7 separate regions of the Homo sapiens genome follow, and all the other regions are linked to region 1. The links are contacts of gene promoters, found by promoter capture Hi-C in blood cells and fetal thymus (Javierre and others, 2016). All regions are on one chromosome and are shown on one strand. Each heading gives the region's core, a stretch centred on a gene start or on the middle of the fragment in contact. The rest is flanking DNA. Distances are from core to core; before and after follow the strand shown.

The links. Contacts are between HindIII fragments. The CHiCAGO score rates a contact against its expected background, and 5 or more counts as called.
Region 2: a contact is called between a fragment that was not itself captured here and the fragment with the promoter of UNG in region 1, in 1 of 17 cell types (endothelial precursors). The highest score is 5.7, in endothelial precursors.
Region 3: a contact is called between a fragment that was not itself captured here and the fragment with the promoter of UNG in region 1, in 8 of 17 cell types (total CD8 T cells, total CD4 T cells, activated CD4 T cells and 5 more). The highest score is 12.2, in total CD8 T cells.
Region 4: a contact is called between a fragment that was not itself captured here and the fragment with the promoter of UNG in region 1, in 1 of 17 cell types (naive CD4 T cells). The highest score is 6.3, in naive CD4 T cells.
Region 5: a fragment that was not itself captured here is called in contact with the fragment with the promoter of UNG in region 1 in 14 of 17 cell types (total CD4 T cells, total CD8 T cells, naive CD4 T cells and 11 more); the score reaches 16.0 in total CD4 T cells.
Region 6: a fragment that was not itself captured here is called in contact with the fragment with the promoter of UNG in region 1 in 1 of 17 cell types (M0 macrophages); the score reaches 6.0 in M0 macrophages.
Region 7: a contact is called between a fragment that was not itself captured here and the fragment with the promoter of UNG in region 1, in 1 of 17 cell types (endothelial precursors). The highest score is 5.6, in endothelial precursors.

What each region holds. Positions count from the first base shown.
Region 1 is chr12:109,095,975-109,099,153 of GRCh38, reverse strand. It overlaps UNG (uracil DNA glycosylase), which reads right to left and starts at 1,557. Exons shown (of 7, transcript NM_080911.3): 1 at 1,343-1,557; 2 at 516-722. The coding sequence starts at 1,474. RefSeq lists a silencer at 989-1,378. The HindIII fragment of the contact is 3,702 bases long and covers 36-3,179 here.
Region 2 is chr12:108,592,999-108,596,177 of GRCh38, reverse strand. All of the region lies in intron 1 of TMEM119 (transmembrane protein 119), which reads left to right. Among named protein-coding and RNA genes, the nearest start is that of TMEM119, 3.5 kb to the left of the region's middle. RefSeq lists an enhancer at 1,865-2,531. The HindIII fragment of the contact is 996 bases long and covers 1,247-2,242 here.
Region 3 is chr12:108,625,505-108,628,683 of GRCh38, reverse strand. All of the region lies in intron 1 of SELPLG (selectin P ligand), which reads left to right. LOC105369968 (a long non-coding RNA gene) reads right to left here and starts at 38. Exons shown (of 3, transcript XR_007063449.1): 1 at 1-38. The HindIII fragment of the contact is 2,694 bases long and covers 394-3,087 here.
Region 4 is chr12:108,642,855-108,646,033 of GRCh38, reverse strand. CORO1C (coronin 1C) reads left to right here. Exons shown (of 11, transcript NM_014325.4): 11 at 1-925. It overlaps LOC105369968 (a long non-coding RNA gene), which reads right to left. Exons shown (of 3, transcript XR_007063449.1): 3 at 1-3,179. Among named protein-coding and RNA genes, the nearest start is that of MIR4496, 8.6 kb to the right of the region's middle. The HindIII fragment of the contact is 5,234 bases long and covers 1-3,179 here.
Region 5 is chr12:108,665,447-108,668,625 of GRCh38, reverse strand. The region is part of intron 3 of CORO1C (coronin 1C); the gene reads left to right. It also overlaps the pseudogene RNU7-169P. Among named protein-coding and RNA genes, the nearest start is that of MIR4496, 31 kb to the right of the region's middle. The HindIII fragment of the contact is 2,085 bases long and covers 479-2,563 here.
Region 6 is chr12:108,683,336-108,686,514 of GRCh38, reverse strand. The region is part of intron 2 of CORO1C (coronin 1C); the gene reads left to right. Among named protein-coding and RNA genes, the nearest start is that of CORO1C, 47 kb to the left of the region's middle. The HindIII fragment of the contact is 236 bases long and covers 1,381-1,616 here.
Region 7 is chr12:109,394,709-109,397,887 of GRCh38, reverse strand. It overlaps MYO1H (myosin IH), which reads right to left. Exons shown (of 32, transcript NM_001101421.4): 4 at 1,306-1,504; 5 at 76-156. Among named protein-coding and RNA genes, the nearest start is that of LINC01486, 37 kb to the right of the region's middle. RefSeq lists a silencer at 1,098-1,298. The HindIII fragment of the contact is 4,444 bases long and covers 1-3,179 here.

The DNA.
Region 1 (3,179 bases), core at 308-2,807:
CTCATTGGAAACCATAAGAATTCAATAAGAAAGCTTCTAGTGCAAGTTATTTGGAACATCATTAGTTCTTTGTCATGTTATGTCCAAATTCTTTTAAAAAACAACAAACAAAAACAGTGCCTGCCCCCCCACCTAAGTGGTTCAATCAGGTCAATTCCTTGCCTCTTTCTCTGGGCTGGGTCCTGACAGTGCCACTCCTCTCGGCTTTTTAAAGCTCAAGCCAGGTTTCATTCAGGATGGTTGGTGATTTTACTACGCCAGCCTTTCCTGGACAATAGACTATGTGACTTAAATGAATCCATGATATCATCTCGCGGGTCGTTAACAACTTTAACCAATATAAAGCTGCAGAGTGAAACATCATGGCTTTCTTTTACCCCCTTTGTGAGTAAAGGAGGTTGAAGGGGGTACAACCTAAGCCTACGGAAACATGAACTTGGCCGGCTACACTAACAAGACAAAAGGGCCGGCAGCCTCCACATTTACCCTTATGGAAGGTGCATTTCCATATTTACCTTGATAAAATACGGTTTCCCGAACTCCCCGCTGAGGTGCTTCTTCCAGCTCTCTCCAAAGCCCACGGGCACGTTGCGGGCCGCGAGTCTGAGCAGGGCCGCGGCCTTGTTCCTCTGGATCCGGTCCAACTGCTCGGCACTCAGCGGCGAGGAGGGCGGCGTCCCAGGCTCCTCCTGCCCAGCCGGGGCCTTCTTGGCTGGGATGGCCTGCAAGTGGTCCCCGCAGAGGCGGCTCAAGAGCTGCAGCGGCCCCTTCCCAGGCGTCCGCAGCTTCCGGCCCAACCCCCACGGCCCAAGGCAGAAGACGCCCATTTGTGGAACAGGTCCCAGCAAAAGCGGACAGTAAGAGCCCAGGGCTGGGCCCGGTCCGGGAATTGGGAATTAGGTTCTAAACTGGAGCGGGGAGACGGGCTGGGAGGCGCCCTATGGCTTCCCGAGGAGCGTCGCGGTGACTGGGAACCCTGCACAGAGGTGCCCCGCCCCCGCCAGACCCGCCCCACCGCGTCCCCACGTGGTCTTTTCGCGGCAAAAAACCTCCCTCTGGGTCCCGCCCCCTCTCCCCTCTGATTGGACAGCGCACCGAGCCAGGAGGGCCTGCGGCGCGCGGATTGGCGCCATGGGCCCCGAGACGCGTTCCCATTGGCTGGCCCTTTAGCATGGCGGCCCATGGGGGACAGCGGCGGCTATTTTGAACACGTGGAGGCTATTTGGAAAGCGGAGCCCGGGTTTACCGAGTCAGAGGCGCGATCCTGCACGCCCTCCGTCAGGCGGGGCCCACCGCCTTCCTCCCCCTTCACCCCCTAGCCCCGGCCCAAGCCGCGCCTCACCGCCGCATCTCCGCTTTCCTCAGGCACCCCAGCCACGCCGGTCCCCTGGACGGCCGGCTCGGGGCTGGGGGCGTGTCGCTTCCTGGCGGGGCTGGGGGAGAAAAAGGAGTAGAGCGTCTTCTGGCCGATCATCCTGGAGCTGAGGAGGCAGCGAACGCGCGCCACCCGGGAACCGGCGAGGCTAGCCCTGGCTGTGGCTGTGGCGGTCAGCAATTGGCGCCAAGCGGCCCGCGCATGCTCCGAGCGGGGGGCTTTGCTGGGGGCGGGGGGCGGTGGAAGGCCCAGTGCGCATGTGCGGGAGGGGCTGGAGTGCAACGCCCCTGGGAGGAGGTGGGGCGTGCAACGGTGCCCGGGGGCCTATTCTTTCATTCGCTTTGTGCCTTCAGCCCACCTCTGCTCTTTGGACAGGCTCTTAAGGCTCAGCTGCAAGAAGAGAAGACTGGTCAGGCGCGGTGGCCCACGCCTGTAATCCTAGCGCTTTGGGAGGCCCAGGCTGGAGGATCGCTTGAGGCCAGAGGGTCTGAGCTGTAGTGAGCTTTGATCGCGCCAATGCACTCCAGGCCTGGGCGACAGAGCGAGACCCTGTCTCTCGGTGGGGTCGGGGGGAGGGGGCTGGGAAGAAAAGTTCCTGCCCCTTAGGGGTGTTGTGGGAGTGCAATGAACAATATAATAATATTGTCCGGGCTTGATGGCTCACGTCTGTAATCCCCGCACTGTAATCCGAGGCATCTCAAAAACAAACAAACAAACAAATACTATTATATTTTGTGTGTGTATTTTGTTTTTGAGACAGAGTCTTGCTCTGTCGCCCAGGCTGGAATGCAGTGGTGTGATCTCAGCCCACTGCAACCTCCGCCTCCCGGATTCAAGCGATTCTCGTGCCTCAGCTAGGATTATAGGCGCGCGCCACCACGCCTGGCTAATTTTTCTATTTTTAGTAGAAATGGGGTTTCACCATGTTTGCCCAAGTGTGTTTTGTATTTTTTTAGTAGAGATGGGGGATCTCACCATGTTGGCCAGTCTGGTCTCGAACTCCTGACCTCAGGCGATCTGCCCACCTTGGCCTCCCAAAGTGCTGGGATTACAGGCATGAGCCACCACACCCAGCCAATATTATTTGTTGAACTGTTATATACATTTTCTCACGCAATTTTCATGGCCTATTTTATGACGATAAACTAAGGCTTAGTGCAGTCAAACATTTTGCCTAATGTATCAGGCTTGTGGGAGACTTTCGGGTCATAGAGGTTAAACACCAACGATTTGTCTTCCAAATGACACCACTGTACCGAACCTCCTCCCACCACTACTAATACACTTAGGATTCTCTTTCCCTCCCTCACATCCAAACCATCCATATCTGCTTTTGGTTCTTTCTCCAAAGCAAACCTCAAATTCAACTGCTGCTCTTGCATCTCCTAGCTACAGAAGACCAGCTGGGAAGCTGGTGTTCTCTTTTCTAGAGAGAGATTTTTACATCATGACAATACCTGGGGCCTGGCCCAGCTCGGTGGCTCACGCCTGTAATCCCAACACTTTGGGAGGCCAAGGAGGGGCGTATCGCTTGAGCACAGGAGTTCGAGACCAGCCTGGCAAACATGGTGAAACCCCGTCTCTACTAAAAATACAAAAATTAGCCAGGCGTGGTGGCATGCATTTGCAATCCCAGCTACTCAGGAGGCTGAGGCAGGAGAATCACTTGAACCCGGGAGGCGGAGGTTGCAGTGAGCTGAGATTGTGCCACTGCACTCCAGCCTGGGTGACAGAGCAAGACCCTGTCTACAAACAAAAAAAAGAAAAAGAAAAAAAAGACAATCCTTAGGTTAAAACCCTTCTT
Region 2 (3,179 bases), core at 495-2,994, 500 kb after region 1:
GAATTCAGCTACCCCAGACCCTATCTTTCCTCGGGGCTCAGCTACTTCGCACCAGGCACTCTCTGAAAGTTGTCTCATTTGGCCCTAACAGCTCTGAGAGGTGCTACCTGTGGTCACCCTGTCCCAACTTACGGATGGGGAAAGTGAGGCCCACAGGAGCCAGACCACAGAGCTGGATGCGATGGAGCCGGGATTCTTGACCCAGCCAGAACTTGAGTGGGTCTCCAGCCACCCATGGTCCCAGCTGCCCTCTGCAGTGAGAAGTGGTAGTTGTTGCCACAAAAGCTCTCTCCTAGGCTTGACTGGGGGTGGGAGGCAGGGAGGTGACTGGCAGGTCACAGACCCCAAAGCTCAAGGTTGTCTGTAGGAACCTTTGCTAACAGGTGCCAGAGAGGTGAGGGGGTCCTTTCCTCATTTAGCATCTGACAGGTGATGTCCACCAGCGGGAACAAGCCATTCCTGGCTCAGAGTGTGTGGTGTGTGCATGTGTGTGTGGTTGTGTAGGTGAGTGTGTGTGGTGTATGTGTATGGTTGTGTGTATGTGGAGTGTATGCATATATGTGTGGTGTGTGCATGTGTGTATGATTGTGTGTAGTATGTGAATGTGTGTATAGGGGTGTGTGTGGGGCATGTGTGTACGTGGTTGTGTGTGGGGTGTATATGGGTATGTGTGGCGTGTGTGCATGTTTGTGTGTGGGGTGTGTGTGCATGTGTGTAGATGATTGTGTGTGTAGTATGTGCATGTGTGTATATGGGTGTGTGAGTGTGTGTGTGGTATGTGTGTGCATGGTTGTGTGTGGTGTGTGTGCATGTGTGTATGATTGTGTAGTCTGTGCATGTGTGTATATGGGTGTGTGTGTGTGTGGCGTGTGTGCATGATTATGTGTGGGGTGTGTATGGGGATGTGTGTGTGAGTGTGTGGCGTGTATGAATGGTTGTGTGTGTGGTGAGTGTGCATGTGTATGTATGGCTGTGTATGAGTGTGAGTGTGGTTTGTGTGAATGTGCGTGTAAACTCCTGGGATCAGACAGAGGAAGGTTCAGATCCCAGCTCAGCTACTTATCATCTGTGTGTCCTTGGGGAAGTCACTGTCTGTCTCTGAACCTCTGTTTCCTCATCTGTAAAATGGGGATAATGAAGCTGCCTCAGGGCTCCTGTAGGATTAAAGGCATGAAAAGGGCTTAGATGAGTACCCGCGAGGAAAGCACAGGTGACCAGCTCATTTAAAATGAGCCCCTGAGAAGCTTTGTCTCTTTTTTAAAAAATTGAAATATTTTAATATATTTCATAGAGATGGAGGTTTCCTTATGTTGCCCAGGCTGGTCTTGAACTCCTGGGCTCAAGCGATCCTCCCAAGTAGCTGGGACTACAGGCATACACCACCAGGCCTGGCTACTTTTTTATTTTTTTGTAGAGGTGGGGTCTTACTATGTTGCTCAAACTCCTGCCCTCAATCAATCCTCCGGCCTCGGCCTCCCAAAGTGCTGGGATTACAAGTGTGAGCCACCACACCTGGCCAATTTTGCCTCTTTTTATGTCCTGGAATTATTTTTTTATTTTTTCCATCTAAGCCAGTTTGTTCACATTTAATTTCTTTTTTTTCTTTTCTTTCTTTCTTTTTTTTTTTGACAGGTTCTTGCTCTGTCACCCAGGCTGGAGTGCAGTGCCAACTCCGCTCACTGCAGCCTCAACTTCCCGGGCTCAGGCGATTCTCCCACCTCGGTCTCCTCGGTACCTGGGACCACAAGTGTGCGCCACTAGGCCTGGCTAATTTTTGGTGTTTTTAGTAGAGACAGAATTTTGCCGTGTTGACCAGGCTGGTCTTGAACTCCTGAGCTCAGGTGATCCTCCCACCTTGGCCTCCCAAAGTGCTGGGATTACAGGCATGAGCCACCGCACCCAGCTGATGCGATCCATTTCAATGAAAGCTGTGTCACAGAGAAGCCTCAGGTCACCTGGAACAAGCCCCTCAATGGCCCAACCTGGTTCCTACCTCACCTCCAGAATCCTCACGGTACCTGTGGGGAAGGTAGTGTCCTCTGCTTCACCAAGCAGGCCCTGAGGCCCAGGTGCTGGAGATGTGACCGCAGCCGAGGCCTTGGGAGCCTGGCTTCCTCCTCCAGCCCGGAACTTGCTGTGTGGCCCTGGGCCTGCCCTTTGCCTTCTCCGGGCCTCTGTCTCTCCACCTCAGTTCCCTGAGGCCTCAGGACAGGAGATCCTAAGGCTTTTCTGTGTTGAAGCTTCTAGACCCAAGCCCGCTTCCGGGACCTGAGCCCTCTGCTGGGCCGGGCAGGGGTTCTCAGAGGACAGTGCAGTGAATTGTCCCTGGGTTTGAGCAGCTGGGAGCCCCCAGCTCACATTGGCTGGGAGAGACAGTGTTTTGAAACTCAGCTCCTCTGTCAACTCTGGCTATGAGGAATTAATTCATCAGCCGGGCTGTCTGGGCCAGGTGGGGTCTTGGGGTTCACCCGGGAGCAGCCTTCCATCAGGGCAGGGAGGCCCCCGGCTCATCTGGTTCCCATCTAGTGGGGGCGGGGCGCATCGGCAGCTCAGCTTTGTCTTGGGAACCAGGACTTCCCCACCCTGGGGCCCATCCTGGCTCCTGCTTGGAGCCTGGGGGTGAGGGCAGCCACAGGGGGCTGTCCATGCATGCCCCTGGCATCCATGACCCCTGCCTAGCTCAGAGACCTGGAGGCTTCAAACCCTACGAATCTTTTTTTTTTTTTCTTCTTGAGATAGGTTCTCGCTCTGTCACCTAGGCTGGAGTGTGCAGTGGCGCGATCTCGGCTCACTGCAACCTCCGCCTCCCAGGTTCAAGCGATTTTCCTGCCTCAGCCTCCTAAGTAGGTGGGATTACAGGGGCACGACACCATGCCTGCCTGATTTTTGTATTTTTAGTAGAGATGGGGTTTCACCATGATGGCCAGGCTGGTCTTGAGCTCCTGACCTCAAGTGATCTGCCCACCTCGGCCTCCCAAAGTGCTGGGATTACAGGCGTGAGCCACTGCGCCTGCCCTGCTAGGAATCTTTTGCAGAATAAGGTAGAGCTGGGCTGGCGGAAGGTTTGAGAAAGCCCCTGAACCACCAGGTTGTGGCCGCGCGGAGCCACTTTGGCCACCCAGTGCATGGGGGCCAGACCCTGAGGGGAACGGGACCACAGAGAGGCTGGGGACTGAAGG
Region 3 (3,179 bases), core at 491-2,990, 470 kb after region 1:
AGTCCGGCCCTGACTCACCAAGATGCCTCCCCCAACCCGGGAACCAGGGAGACCAGGCCTTGCAACTTTGCCCCCACCTTCTCTGCTTCCAGGAAGTGGCTGAGGGCTTTGCCTTCCAGGAACAGAGAACTGCCCAAGTGGGGGTTGGTAGCTGTGAGTGTGCTCATAAGTATGAAATATGTCTCTAGGCTAATGGCTTCTTCCTAAAGTCCCTGCCTCCAGGAAAGTGGGGCCAAGGTTGGGCCGTAGATTCTTCCCCCAGATAAGAACTCTACCCCAAAGAAATTCTGCTGCCCTGAAGGCAAATTGGGAGGCAAAAGTGTGTGTGTGTGTGTGTGTGTGTGTGTGTGTGTGTGTGTGTGTGTTACATTTATTAAGCACCTACTGTAAGCTTGGAACTTTTGTTTTCTTGTTTTGTTTTGAGACAGGGTCTCACTCTGTCGCCCAGGCTGGAGTGCAGTGGTACAATCTCGGCTCACTGCAGTCTCAACCTTCCAGGCTTAAGCGATCCTCCCACATTAGCCTCCCCAGTAGCTGAGACGATAGGTGTGCATCATCATGCCTGGCTAATTTTTCTATTTAAAATTTTTTTATTTTATTTTTGAGGCAGGGTCTTGCTTTGTCACCCAGGCTGGGGTGCAGTGGCATGATCACAGCTCACTGCAGCCTCAATCTCTCCAGGCTCAAGCAATTCTCCCATCTCCGCCTCCTGAGTAGCTGGGACTACAGGGGCACACCACCACTCCTGGCTAATTTTTTGTATTTTGTAGAGACGAGAGACAGGGCTTCACCATGTTGCCCAGGCTGGTCTGGAACTCCTGAGCTCAAGCAATCCACCTGCCTTGGCCTCCCAAAGTCCTCGGATTACAGGAGTGAGCCACCGTGACTGGCCTAATTTTTCTATTTGTGTCGAGATGGGGATCTCACTATGTTGCCCGGGCTGGTCTTGAACTCATGGGCTCAAGTGATCTGCCTGCCTTGGCTTCCCAAAGTCCTGGGATTACAGGCATGAGCCACCATGCCCACCAGCCTGGAACTTTTGAATCTATCCCCTTGTTGCACTGTCTCAACAGCCCTGTGAGATGGGCACTGTTTCTTATCCCAATTTTACAGATGGGAAAACTGAAGCTCAGGGAGGCAAGCATCTGTGTCAAGGTCATACAGCTTGTAAGGGACAGAGCTAGGACTTGAACATCCTTTTTGTCTGACCCCACATCTATGCTTTCAACCCTATGCCCTGCATGGCACCCGGTAAATATGTGGCAGGCCTTTCTGGGGGACATAACTTTCAAGCTCCTCCTTTTTCTTACTCTGCCCTCCCTCTCCCACCCAAGTCCACAAGCCCAGCCTTCTGTCTCCTCAACTAGGTCAGGTGTCTCCTGACGGCCTCATGCCTTCCTGAACCTCACTGGGTTTCAGTCTGATCTTGACCTCTCACCAGCTGTGTGTCTTTGGGCAAGTCACTTCACTTCTCTTAACCTCAGTGTGGTCCTTGGTAAAATGGGGATAATTGTGAGGGCCAGATGTCTCTGGTGCAAATATCGTAAAGTTTGGTTTAAGAAAGTATTTTTTTATTTTTTAGACAGAGTTTTGCTCTTGTCTCCCAGACTGGAGTGCAGTGGTGTGATCTTGGCTCACTGCAACCTCTGGCTCCCAGGTTCAAGCAATTCTCCTGCCTTGGCCTCCCAAATAGCTGGAATTACAGGGAGCACCACCACGCCCGGCTAATTTTTGTATTTTTAGTAGAGACAGGGTTTCACCATGTTGGCCGGACTAGTCTTGAACTCCTGACATCAGGTAAGCCACCTGCCTTGGCTTCTCAAACAGTTGGGATTACAGGCGTGAGCCACTGCACCTGGCCTAAGAAATTATTTTAAGATGTGGGTCGGGTGTGGTGGCTCATGCCTATAATCTCAGTGCTTTGAGAGGCCGAGGCAGGAGGATTGCTTGAGGCCAGGAGTTTGAGACCAGCCTGGACAACAGCAAGACCCCGTCTCTACAAAAAAAAAAAAATTAAAAATTAACCAGATGTGGTGGCATGTGCATATAGTCCCTACTACTCAGGAGGCTGAGGTGAGAGAATCACTTGAGCCTAGGAGGTCGAAGCTGCAGTGAGCTATAATTGCACTACTGCACTCCAGACTGGGCGACAAAGTGAGAATCTGTCTCTAATATAAGTAAGTCAATAAATAAATGGAAATAAATTAGTTTAAGATATGATCAGATTTGCATATTTGAAACCAACATAGGCCTGGCACGGTGGCCCACGCCCTGTAATCCCAGCACTTTGGGAGGCCGAGGTGGGCAGATTGCTTGTGGTCAGGAGTTTGAGACCAGCCTGACCAACATGGCGAAACCCCGTCTCTACTAAAAATACAAAAATTAGCTGGGCATAGTTGTGTGCGCCTGTAGTCCCAGCTACTTGGGAGGCTGAGGAAGGAGAATTGCTTGAACCCGGGAGGCGGAGGTTGCAGTGAGCCAAGGTCGTGCCACTGCACTCCATCCTGGGCAACAGAGCGAGACTCTGTCTTGGAGAAAAAAAAAAAAAAAAAAAAGAAAAGAAACCAACATAATTCTAACTAACATATGAAAGAGATCAGATTGAACCTGGCTGGAAGGTGAGGGGCCCGTGAGTGAGTTACAGTCACCCGAGGAATGATGAGCAACTGTTCGTTCCTCCAAATCATGTGAATGAAGTACAAAGGAAGAGACTGGAAATTGTCCGGGTGCTATTCTTGAATGCCCACTCTGCATCAGACACTATTCTAAAAGTTGTGTGCTGCTGAAGGGTGTTATATCCAGGGAATGCAGGAATACCTGAATCCTGCCCCAGAACGTGGCTGTCACTCACCATAGGATTCTCAGCATAGAATTTTTAATTCTGTAAACACCAGCCAGTGCCAAGGAGAGCATGAGGGGAGAGAAAGAAAACAAGAAAGCACAGGTGTTCACAATGCCAAGAAGAAAGATCAATGAGATGACCAAACAAGAGGCACTGTCTTTTCTGGCTACCTAGTAGGGAGGACAATGTAGAGTCTCTGAATAGACAGTGGTCCTACCCACAGGCACACTCAGTGACTATAAGCTTCCTGAGAGCAGGGCTGTTCTGAAGAGATTTGAGTTTTCTCCTGGCCATGGAGAGTGTAATTAAGTAGCCCTGGGCCCTTGAAGACTTATAG
Region 4 (3,179 bases), core at 228-2,727, 450 kb after region 1:
CTGCCTCTCCATCTCTCACCAAGGCTGCGTCAAAGCACAGAGGCTCCCCGGACTCGGAGGGGGCCAGAGACTGAGCTCTGGTCACCTGTTCATTCCTCGGTTAGCTGGAACTTTGCCCCGTTTCCAGTTTCTTATAGTGCATGCTTGGGAAACAAGATTTAAGGAGCCTCTGTTTTGGAAGGGCTGTCTGTGATTGAACGTGAAATGTGTAGTGCCATTGGGACCACGAAGGGAATTCTTGCACATGCTCGTGCTGGTGTGGGCATGGGACTGGCTGGAAACGTCTGTATGCAGGGAGCCAGGGTGAGGGCAGAGTGTGGTGACAGCCGAACTTGGAGTAATGTCCGTGTAGAAAAAGGACCATGTTCTTATCCAGCCAATACTGGGAGTGCTGTCTCCACAATTTCAGGGCATCTGAATGTTTGATGTGGTTTTGTGTGTGTGTATGTATGTGTTTAATATTGAAGTGGATCATGAGATGTAAAGAAAACAATAATGGCAATGACTTATATTCAAATCTGTATTTGTTTCTTTATCAATGTAATCTGCTGAGGACCTTTTGTCTAAGATTCAGTAGTGTTTTAAGGTTCTGATATCGAATTAATGAAGTAAAGTTGTTGATGGTGGTGAAACACCGTAGGGCATGTGGTTCAAAGAGAAGCAGGAGGGCAAGGGAAAGTTACCCTGATCTTAGTTTGTAGCTTATGACTTATTTAATGAATGGATGCCCAGCCAAGCTCAGAGTAGGCGCCCAAAGCATTGTGGATTATTTTCCTGTTTTGTCTTTTTTTTTTTTTTTTTTTAAGCCATGACATCCCAGAAGAGGACAGTGAATTACTCCTAGGTCGGCTCTTATAGAGTGGCCATAGTGTTCTGTCAAAACACTTGCTTCCATTTTCAGAGATAAAAATCATTGATTACAAAATGGTGTTTGTGTTTATTTCACGCCTTGGCTGTCTGTGAGGCAGCCCCCACCTCTCTGCCTGACATAGCTTCTCTGACTTTGGTGGACGAGCACGGTGCCATACTCCTCTCCGGGGGTAAGTACAGGGGAAGCGCGTGTGGGTGGCTCAGTTCAAGTACAAGTGAGGTCTCCAAGCCAGTCAAGCACTGTGTTTTGGCTTCCAGCAGACCTGAGCCTTTGGATCCTGCCTCAGACCTTTGCCAGCGGTGTGTCCTGGGATGGGGTTCCTAATCCTTCTGAGTCCCTTTTCTTGAAAGGAGGATGATAATTCCATGTAGTTCAGATGAGAGGAATACCTGTGTGGCCACACAAACAACCCTCGCTGCATGGCCGCTACTGTTACTATTATGAGTTGATTTTCTGACAGAGTCTTTGAAAGCACTTTTTCTTCAATAGAAGCAAAATTCTCTTGGCTCAGCTGTGACTTTTATTCCAGCAGGCTTCCAGGGTCAGTTGAATTGCAGGGCTTCCCTTTCGCACTATGACATTGTCTCGTGACATTTCAGTGATTGTAGCAAAGAATTTCCCACTGTTTGCTTTTTCTGAATATGATGAATGGTCAGCATAAAGCTCCCCTTCCTCAAATGCCTTATCTTAAAGTTGCTTTAGTCTATGAGAAGAATGGCTGCCATGTTCTTGGTCCACTCGTGGCTGCAGGAAGTAGAAGTTGGCAGGGCTCTCTGTAGACCCGAGGTGCCCGCAGTCAGCCAGGAGACGCGTGGTGGTCTGTTTATGACTAACTTGTTTTCTCACTCGGGCCACCTTGATTCTTTGCCAGAAGACCTGAAGGTCAGCATGCTGGCCCCAGACAGCCAGCCAGACCTCGTCTGGGGGGAACTTCCATTTTTTTTTTCAAGGTCACTTCCCTTGCTGTACTTGGTATTCTACACCCAGAAAAACTCTTTGTTGGCTCTTAAGAATCTGTTAACTCTAAGTGGGCCCTTCTCTTTCTGCGGGCACATTAAGTATCCCAGTGCTGGCAGTGGGTCACGGACATGAGTCACCGTCAAGGGCACGCCTTTCCTGCTTCAGACGGGCAACCCTTGATGTCCAGGCCGGACAGTGCCCTTTGTGCTCTTTTATTCGTTAAAAAGAAGTCCCTTGCCAAAGAATGTAGGGGTGGCAGTCCTCTCCTGCGAAAAGCGGGTATGTGCGGGGTGGACAGCCTTTCCAGAGGGCAGTCTGGCAAGTGGATCAAAAGCCTTAAAGGTTTTCTTAAGACCCAAGATTCTCACCTTTGGAAATTTTGTCCCAGGGAACTAGTGGGAGGTATATTCAGGAATTAGAAGAGTAAAATCAACTCTGCAGAAGGGGGTCAGTAAGTTACTTGTCATATCCATATGTTATAATTCTGTTCCATTATTTAAAGTCATTTAAAAAGAGTATTGAATAGGAAACATTAAAAAAATAGTAAAATAAAGTCAATTCCAACTTGGGTTTAAAATATATACCTACCTAGGTTGAAACATGAAAGTATATTATTTCTGGGTGCTGGATGTCACTACCAACTTTTTTCTGTGTATGCCAAGAGCCCTACAGTGAACTGTGTTGCTGATGTCAGCATAAAAAGTGTGTTTACAAAGTAATTCTCATCAGCTCTCTACCCCATGGAGTCACTCTGCAGTAAATGATGTTAGTTGGCTAATCCATTCAGAAGTAAAATGGGGAAGAAAGTGAAGTCCATTGGACCTCATAAGAACATTCAGGACCAGAACTTCTAGTGAGAGGTGTAGGTTTCCTAATACAGATATGTAAAACCAACCCCGAACAGATGGCTTGTGACAAACTTTTTAAAGGATATATGCATATACAATGTATACTTATGTGTAGAATAAATACCAGAAATGTTGTTATTGCTATAGGGAGGTAAAGTTGTGTGTAATTTCTATTTAATCCTATTTTTCTGAATTTAGAAATTTCCTATAAATGTATTTATTCCCAGAAAGGCATTATTAAAATTAATGTATTAGTGATAAGTTAATAATTATTAAGATAAGCATAAATCAGTGGAGATGTTTGAAATGGTGCAGCAACATTTGGTTAGCTGTGGGGGCAGCAGGGACACCAATATACATTCTTAATGGAGTCCACAGTTAAAATAAAACCTTTTCTTTTTCTATTTAGAAGAAAGTAAGTCCCTTTTAATCTACACTTCAGACTAGAAAAAATGTAAGCCCTAAAGCAATGGAATACATCACAAAGGAAAAGACAGATT
Region 5 (3,179 bases), core at 272-2,771, 430 kb after region 1:
GCTTCTCCCTTCTCTCAAATCAGTTTATTCTTCTGTAGAAATCAACAAAAATACCCTATCTAATCCATTTTTGCTTCCATTATAAATTTTCCTAATATAGTTTTTTTTGGCGGGTGGGAAGGCATTTGACAAAGACTGGAAAACCTGCTAGACAATTTTTAAAAGAGCTTTAATGCTTTCTAATATAGTTTTTGCCCTGAAATAAAAATGGAAGTGATGTTTTGGTTCCTCTCAGGCATTCAGCAGGGAGGGCTTCGTCTTAATTCCATTTTGTACAGATTGCATCTGGGCCATTTGCCAGAGGATATTATAACCCTGGCAGATCGGAACCCAACACTCGGTTCTTGGTTTTCCCGAACTCGGTGCCACTCTGCACGTCATGGTTCATTTGGGAATGCCCTGATGCCCTACATGCAGGCCTTTGTGGGCGTCTGTAGGACGCTGTACTGGTCTGCAGCTGCTACCACATCTTTAAGCTTTCTCCTGTCTCATGTATTTTCTTCATTTCCCATTTGGAATTGGTTTCCTTAGGAATGGAAAAATAGGGTCTTTTGGGGGTGTAACCCTTTTTATGGCTGTAACTCTAGTCCTAGCCCAGTAGCAAGTTGATGATGGGTGACTAAAATAGGGAAGCAGTGTCTGGAAAGCAGTATTTGAAAAATAAAACTATTTAACTAATTGTACTTTAAAATTAGCACGTGAGAGAAACCCAAGTGTCTTAGTTTTCCTTTTTTCTTGTTGGGATTGTTCTCTTGAGTTGTCCTTTTTCCATATCCAGGCTTTCACATGTGAAAAGGATGCCCATGGTACAGTAGTTCTGAACATGTGCTTAAAGTTGTTTTTTTCCAGAACCACAATGGGATTTTACTGATGGATTCACTTTTTCATGTAGGAGCCCTTGGAACTGAATGTCATTTTTTTGGTTATATAGATGAGAGGTTTCTATGTTGCACAGGCTGGCCTTGAACGCCGAGCCTCACTTCCTTATGCACCAGGACAACAGGCCTGAGCCACCACAGCTCCTCTGATTTCATTTTTGTCCTTTCAAAACAAAACATTGCCATAGTAATGTGTTGTCCAAACAGAAAATGTTAGGAACACACAGCATTATTTAAATTAAGAAAATAAAATAAAAAAGAGGAAGTAGGGATAACTTGTACTCTCTGCTGCACTGAGATGCCTACTCTGGGTGTTTTGTGTCTGTTTTCCTCTGCACTCACTGCATACAGTTTTGAGAAAGCTGGTTGGTATTACAGTACCAGTCTGTAGCCATAGAACAAAGAAAAGCTAACAAGCCTGCACAGAGATCAGATCTGTCCTTACTGTGGTAATTGGCCTAGGTATAAACCAGAGCTTTCACACATAATGATATCTTGGGTGTAAATTAGTTAGTATTAATTAATTGGGTACAGTGCTGAATTAATTTGAAGACAAGACTCATTCTAAGAAATTCTGATGTTCAGACCTAGAAATATATATGGCGTCATAGTGGTCATATTAACAGCAAAAAAAGTCATCATGAAAATATGGTAGGCTCTTTTTTTTTTTTGCCACGCGCTATTCTAAGCCTTTATGTGCATGATAATATTTAGTTATTGTATCCGCACAGTAAGCCATGAGTGTGGCCTATTTTACAACTTAGGAAACAGGCTCAGAGAGTGGCAGTTTTGTTAAGGGTCACACAGCTGATAAAAGGCTCAGCCAGACCCAGATCTGTCTAGCTCCAAAGAAAGCCCCATGCTCTTCTCCCTAGTTGCAGTATTTCCTATTAGGGTGGTGCTTTGGGGCATGCAAAATGTTTGAGCTCATTTAACCCTTCTAATAACCCCTGAGTAAGCACAGCTGTCCCCAGTATTAAGGAAATTCAGGCTCCCAGAAGTGAAATCCCTTCTTAATGCTAACATGACCAATTAGTGTCCCAGCTCTGACAGGAGCCTGTGTCTTCTGACACCCAGGCCAGCATCCCATATTACACACAAGAGGACCAAACATGTACCAAGTGGTGCTTCTGTTTGTTGTTGTCCCTGAGCTGCAGGAACATCAGTCCAAACCGAGCAGGCCATCACCCAGAGTAGCAGACAACCCTGAAGAGGGCAGAGAGCCACATAATGACAGGCCTGTGAGCATGGCCTTTGGGTGCCAGCCAGAGCATGTGTATGCTGAGTGTGGAAAGACCTACAGACCGCCCCCAACCCCCAAGCTCTTTCCACAGTCCACCGTAGAGAACACCACCCCCTCTTTACCAGTGGACACAAGAATTCTGTTGTCTTCTTATTTCATTTCAGAGACTTTTTCACTCACTTTCTTCTCGCATTGCAGTCCTTGTGCTTATAGTATTAGCTTTTTCACTCTGGTGCTTTTTCCCTAGCAGCTCCTGAGCCAGCTTCTTTATGGCATTGTTTAAATGCTGCATGCACTTTTTAGAAAATTGCTCTACACATCTGCGTGTTTTATTTTGAGACTGGATATTCAATTTCTCCTCATATTCTGCTCTACTTTCACCTAAGTCTTGTTCATCCTTAGAGGTCACCTCCTCAGGGAGCCCTCCTGGGTGGACCAAGCTTGGTTAGCAGGAAGCTAATTTCGTAGTAGTGCGGTCGGCTTATGCCAGCATAGCATTGGTTGCACTGTGCAATAATACCAACTAACACTCAGTGTCTGCCTTATGCCAGGCATTCTTCTAAATGTGTCAGTTTCATGTTACCATGTTAGTCTTCAAACCGCCTCACAGAAGGCAGGTTCAATATTAAGTCCTGGAAAGGTTAGGTGAATGTCCTCAAGGTCACACCACTATGTGACTGAATCAGGAATTCAGTCACATCAGTCTGGCCAGAGCCCATAATCTCAGCCCTGCTGTGTACTGTCTCTGCATTCTGGAGGCACTATGTGTGTGTCTGGCTCTGTGCTGAGGGTTAATTAATTCCTTAATTCTCTTAGCACACCTCGCAGGCATAGGTACTAATGTTTTCTCTATGCAGTGATGTTTGCCAGGATCATCACAGGTAGTGGCCCAGGCAGGATTTGAACCAGACTCTGCCTGACTCTGGTGCTCACTCTCTAACTGTCTGTATCACACCACTTGGATTTGTTGTCTTTGATTTTCAGTCTGATAGAAGTCTCTGCTTTCTGTTAGACCATCAACTTCTCAAGAGCAGGGCCTGTATTTAGTTACCCAGTAC
Region 6 (3,179 bases), core at 249-2,748, 410 kb after region 1:
TAGATTAAGCAACAGAGGTGATTTATCCCTAGTGAAATAGTGGACTGATCTGTTAGTAAAGTGAAGTTTTTCTATCTCTAAGCTTTAGAAGATTGGTGGGAGTTTCTTAAATAATTCATTTTTTAGTTTAAAAAGATATCTAAAAGCTGGCTTTAATTCTTGTACATCTTCCTTTCAGCCTCTGCATTCATTTAAATTTGCTGCTTAGAGGTTCAGGTAAACTGTGTTGTCACCATGACATGTGGTGGATGTCTTTCTGAGTGGCCCCTCACAATCTAGCTAATTATACATGGATTCTTTGGTTTGTTCACTACATGATAAATCAGTATGTGTCGTGCAGACGAATGAGAATTGTGTTCTTATTAGATCCTAGTGCAAAATGTCTTTCAGAATGATGTTTCCTCATCTTTACCATATAAGGCCGTTATTAGTATGGTTTCCTTTAATCTCCATGAACTGGAGCCCTCAGCAGTTTGTAAGTGCCCAGCTTTGTATTTTTAATAACGTATGCTGATTTGGTGAAATATGTTGTTGTGCTTTTGTTTTGATTTCATTATGAGTAAGAAGATACTTAGAGGTGTAAGCCCTTGAAAGCAGGATAGCTGATACTTGACTGTGTGTTTGTGAACATCCAGCATGCCAAATAATCAGTGTACCTTTAAAATGCCATCTACCCCCATACTGTCTTCACATTTTTGTTCTTTTATCACTGTCAGATATTTAGTCAATTGCTTTTCTCTTGTGCTACAGTAGAATACTACTTTCTCTGTTTTATTTAAGGATTTATGATGACATCACAACCAGAGGAAGCAGCTGCTTGTAGAATATCATTTTTTATTAACTGTGTTTCTGATGGCCAATTGCCAATAATTTTTAACATTACTTGTGTGCCTTTTTTTTACAACCCATGGCATAGTGGAAATTTTCTTTCCCTATCCAAATCTAGTATGGTTGGTCAGTGATATTTTAGATCTTTGCTTCTTGACTTTCTCTGTGCCTCAGTTTCTTTATTTGGAAAATAGGGTGATAAGATTCCCACATCTTAAAGGTTGTCATGAGGACAAAGTTATCAAGGTCTTCAGACAGTTCCTAGCTTGTAATTTAAGTACTTAAAAAGTGTTAGCCATTGTTATTATTTGTTTTGATAGAAAGGACAGAAATAGCTGGCAGTTGCTCTTTCAGTGACATTCAGGTTCCAGAGAAAATGTTGAGCTCTAGTACTTTCAGGCTGTGGATTTATTGGGGCTGAGCTGGGAATGGCAGTAATGCTTATTATTATTCTCAGATATCTTGACTGAAGAATACTGGTGAATAGCTATTAACTTTTAGCCAGGGTTATTTAATTTTAACTTCAAAAAAGAAGTCATTTAGTAAGAAGCTTCTTAGTATGTAATTAAGAACAACTAGTGCTAGTACTTCCAGATTCCCCTCAAAATTGCTTTGTGTTTGAATAAAAGCGCTTCTTAGCCCAGATTGGAAAAAATCATTTGGTGTTCTTGGAAGTTCAGAGCTCAGTACTATAGTTGGCCATCAAGGATGCCAAATGTGGTTTCCTGGGCAGAGCCTAGGAATGCAAAGACCCTGATGTAAAACAAAACAATTCAGGTAGAAAAGCTTTTTTCCTTGGGAGTAAAAAAAAATTTTAATGCAAATTTAATAATAATGCATTGGTGTATTTCTTAACTTTATTATATTTTAAATTCTTTTTTTCAAAATAAGATGTATCAAAATAATAGGACACACATGTACTCACAAGATTAAACAGATGTTAATATTTTGCCATATTTGTTTCATATCTCCCCTTTTTGAAAAAAGTAATAAAGCATAACAGATACAGGTAGAATACCATTCTTATTTATTTTCTCCTTCCCCAGAGGTAATCTTTTCTTCAAATATGTATCATATTTTTATTACATATATGTTTATCTGTAACATGTACTTTTATTTCGCGTGCCTTAAACTTTTATGTAAATATGTATTCCCATACTGAAGGACAGTGAAATTGCTTCTGCTTTTGCCACTATTTCCAACAATGCGGCAATAAATATTCCTCTTGTACAAAATATGGGAGCATCTCTCTCACCCAGACCACCTAGAAGTGGCATTGCTGGGCTGGACTTCCTCACCTCTACCTGTTACCAAATTGCTCTTGAAAGGAATTGTAACAAGGTGTTCTGTAAGCAGTTTATGAGTTCCTCTTTCCTGACATCCTTGTCAGCACTTATATTTATACTTTTACATTTTCACCAGTTTTGATGAGTATAAAATGTGACCATGTTGTTTTAATTTGCAGTTCTCTAATTATCAGTGAGATTGAAGTATCTTTTCACACATCTATTGCGTCTTCAGATTTTCTTCGCTGTGAGTTCTCTGCTTGTGTAATTTGCCCATCGTTCTGTTTGGTTGTTGATTTTGTTAGGTATGTATGTTGCATACCTCTTCTTGCACTTTGTAACTTGTCTGTTCATTTACATTTTTAAAGAACAACTCACACTGCTGAATTTGGTTTGCTTTTGTTGCTGTTTGTGAGGAGCTTTGCATCAGTATTTATAAGTCATATAGGCTTCAATTTTTCTCCCTTATACTGTCCTTTGTATCAAGGTGTTACATTCCTTATATGATGAATTCAGTGGCACTTTTCTTTTTTCTGTTCTCTGGAAAGCTTTGTTTGAAATGATCTCTTCCTTGAATATTTGGTGACACTCACCTGTAAAACCATCTGGGCCTAGTGTTTTTTGGTATTTGCTGATTGATTGATTGATTGGGAGGTGGTGATGGGTAGAGTTATACTACTGATCTTTTATGGTTATGGATCTAATTTACATTTATTTATTCTTGAAAATCTTTTGATGTTACTTTTACTTCTGTGAGATTGTGTATTTCATCTAGATTATTCAATTTTATATATATTGTCAAATGTTATTCCTAGTGTTTTCATACTCTGTAAATTTCTACTTTATTTGTAAGTTATGTCCCTTTTAAAATTATTGGTATTCATTTGTGCCTTATCTCTTTTCCTGATCTATCCAGTTTAGTTGATTTTGTTATTTATTTTTTTTCCACTGACTTCTTTTTTTCCTCTTTTTTTTTTTTTTTGAGACAGAGTCTTGCACTGTTGCCCGGACTGGAGTGCAATGGTGCGATCTCAGCTCACTGCAACCTCTGCCTCTCAGGTTCAA
Region 7 (3,179 bases), core at 418-2,917, 300 kb before region 1:
AGGGGCCTTGGCTTGGGTTCCGTCACTGGCAAAATAAGGGGTCCCCATGAACCAGTAATAGGAGCTTCAGTGTACCTGAAAATCAAATTGTATATCCATGTATTTCCCAAATCTGCTGGAGTTGTCATTCCGGAGCGTTCTGGCATTTCCAAAAGCCTTGGAATACAAAGTGTCATTCACTGTCATTTAAGCTCACCATGCGTATCAAATTCCTGACCCCAAATAATACACTTATTACAAAAATGGAGGAGAGAGAGCGGAAGGAGCCAGGGAGGAAAGGCATGCTTTATCTTCTAAGAAGGAATCGCTAACTACAGAGAATTTAATGCCAAACACTAGATCTGGACCCGGGGAGAAAAGGGGAACAATATCTTCTTCCTAGAATCCAATTAGGAATATATTGGAAATGGTCTCAGGAGGGGTACATAGAACCCTAGCCCCATGCTGTTCTAGAAGGTACAGTGGACAGCCCCCATCACCAGACCCCTTTTTATACCACCGTTGCTCTGCTCAAAGGGTCCACTGGGAAAATTCCTTCAACTATAAACATCTTCATTTATAGAAAGGGCCACAAAAACACAGGAGAAAATGACTTGTTCAGCAAGTCAGTGAATTGCAATAGTGGAAGTAATCATAACCAAAATAATTTTAACTCAATAATAAGAAAACTATTAATAAATAATACATTATTTTTGGTGCTTCCTAATTCTGCTGTGTGTTTTTTGTGCATCTGTTTCACTTAAGCCTCAAAACTTCTTAGGCTGGGTGTGGTGGCTCACGCCTGTAATTACAGCACTTTGGGAGGCTGATGCAGGGAAGGTCACCTGAGGTCAGGAGTTCCAGACTAGCCTGGCCAACATGGCGAAACCCCGTCTCTACTAAAAATGCAAAAATTAGCTGGGAATGATGGTACGTGCCTATAGTGCCAGCTACTTGGGAAGCTGAAGCAGGAGAATTGCTTAAACTCAGGAGGCGGAGGTTTCTGTGAGCCGAGATTGTGCCACTGTACTCCAGGCCTGGGTGACGGAGAGAGACTCCGTCTCAAAAAAAAAAAAAAAAAAAAAAAAAAAAAACGAAACCAAAACAAAAACCAAATGTCTTAAAAGGTAGGTACTATAAGCAGACCCATTCAACAAATGGGGAAATGGGCTTAGTTCCAGGTCACACCCTTAACTGTGACACTATCTGTGTGACCTCTTTTCTTAACAGTGACCTGCCCATTTTGACTGACCTGCCCAGACAGGATTTGTCTCACTTAGTGACCTCCCTGGAACTCCCTTCGATTGGTCCCCAGAGATCGCTTACCTCCAGCACTGGGTTGGAGAACAGCAGTCTGTCACGGGCTATTTGTAGTGACTGGGTCATTGGGCAGGTCACTGCAAAATACTCGAGAATTTTCTTGGAGGCCTCTGTTTTCCCTGCCCCACTCTCTCCAGAAATGAGGATGAAATGGTTATTTAGTTCAGCACACATCATTCGGTAAGCGTTGTCGGCTATAGCGTAGCTGGAGGAGGAGTGAGACGGAAACAAATTCGTTTTAATGGTACTTCCCTTGACTCTGACACCCACCAAAGAAGAAAAATGAGGTGCTCCATCTCCAGGAAGCCACATCCAGACTGTGGTACAAGGACAATGAGCTCAAACACATATCAAACCCTTTCCATAGGCGGGGCACAGTGGCTCATGCTTGTAATCCCAGCACTCTGGGAAGCTGAGGCGGGTGGATCACTTGAGGTCAGGAGTTCGAGACTAGCCTGGCCAACATGATGAAATCCCTTCTGTACTAAAAAAAGATACAAAAATTAGCCAGGTATGGTGGTGCATGCTTGTAATCCCAGCTACTCGGGAGGCTGAGGCAGGAGAATTGCTTGAACCCGGGAGGCAGAAGTTGCAGTGAGCCGAGATTATGCCATTGCACTCCAGGCTGGGCAACACAGCAAGACTCTGTCTCAAAAACAACAACAACAACAACATCAACAACAACAAAACAAACCAACAAAAAACAAAACAAAAAAACCCAAACCCGAAAAACAAAAAAACAAAAAATCCTCTACCACGACCCACTGACTAATCAAATATAGAGTGTACTAGATATCAAAACTCAAATAGTAGAAGAGCTAAAAGGAAGAATTTGAGAATTTTTTTTTTTTTTTGAGATGGAGTCTCGCTCTGTCGCCCAGGCCAGAGTGCAGTAGCACGATCTGAGCTCATTGCAACCTCTGCCTCCCAAGTTCAAGCGATTCTCATGCCACGGTCTCCCGAGTAGCTGGGATTATAAGTGCAGCACTACCACGCCTGGCTAATTTTTTTATTTTTAGTAGAGACGGGGTTTCACCATGTTGATCAGGCTGGTCTGGAACTCCTGACCTCGTGATCCACCTGCCTCAGCCTCCCAAAGTGCTGGGATTACAGGTGTGAGCCACCGCGCCTGGCCTGAAAATATTTTTTAAAGTTCACCAAATTTATGTTTTTAATCCATCAACATGTTTTATAAGAATAAGCCAGCTACTAAGTTACATCTCCAAGAGACGTTCTATTAACTCTAGATGAAAATAACAATCTTGTCTAAATACTAAATAATTCAATTCAATAAATAGAGTAAGATCTCATGTATTTTTTCCCTCAAAACCTAGAATACTAAAAATGGAGTGGCAGGAAACCAAAGAGATTAACAAACTTCAGTGATATCTTTAGGACAAGAGGTAAAACTATGAGAAGTGCTTTATCTTCAAGATCAGACACCAAAGCATGAAGGTATCCCAGGAATATAACCTGAATACGAGGCAGAGTTCCAAAGCCATTTCGGCTTTTAATACATGGTGGTGGCTGGGCATGGTGGCTCACACCCTGTAATCCCAGCACTTTCGGAGGCTGAGGCAGGCAGATCGCTTGAGCCCCAGGAGTTCGAGACCAGCATGGGCAACACACTGAGACCCTGTCTCTATAAAAATTACAAAAATTAGCCAGGGTGGTGGTGTGTACCTGTAGTCCTGGCTACTTAGGAGGCTGAGGTTGGAGGATCACCTGAGCTCTGGGAGGTGGAGGCTGCAGTGATCCATTACTGTGTCACTGCTCTCCAGTCTGGGTGACAAAGCGAGACCCTGTCTCAACATATATATGGTGGTGATGCAGAAAGGCTTATAAGTGACTTAGAAAGTGGAATAGCTGAGTCACCAAGA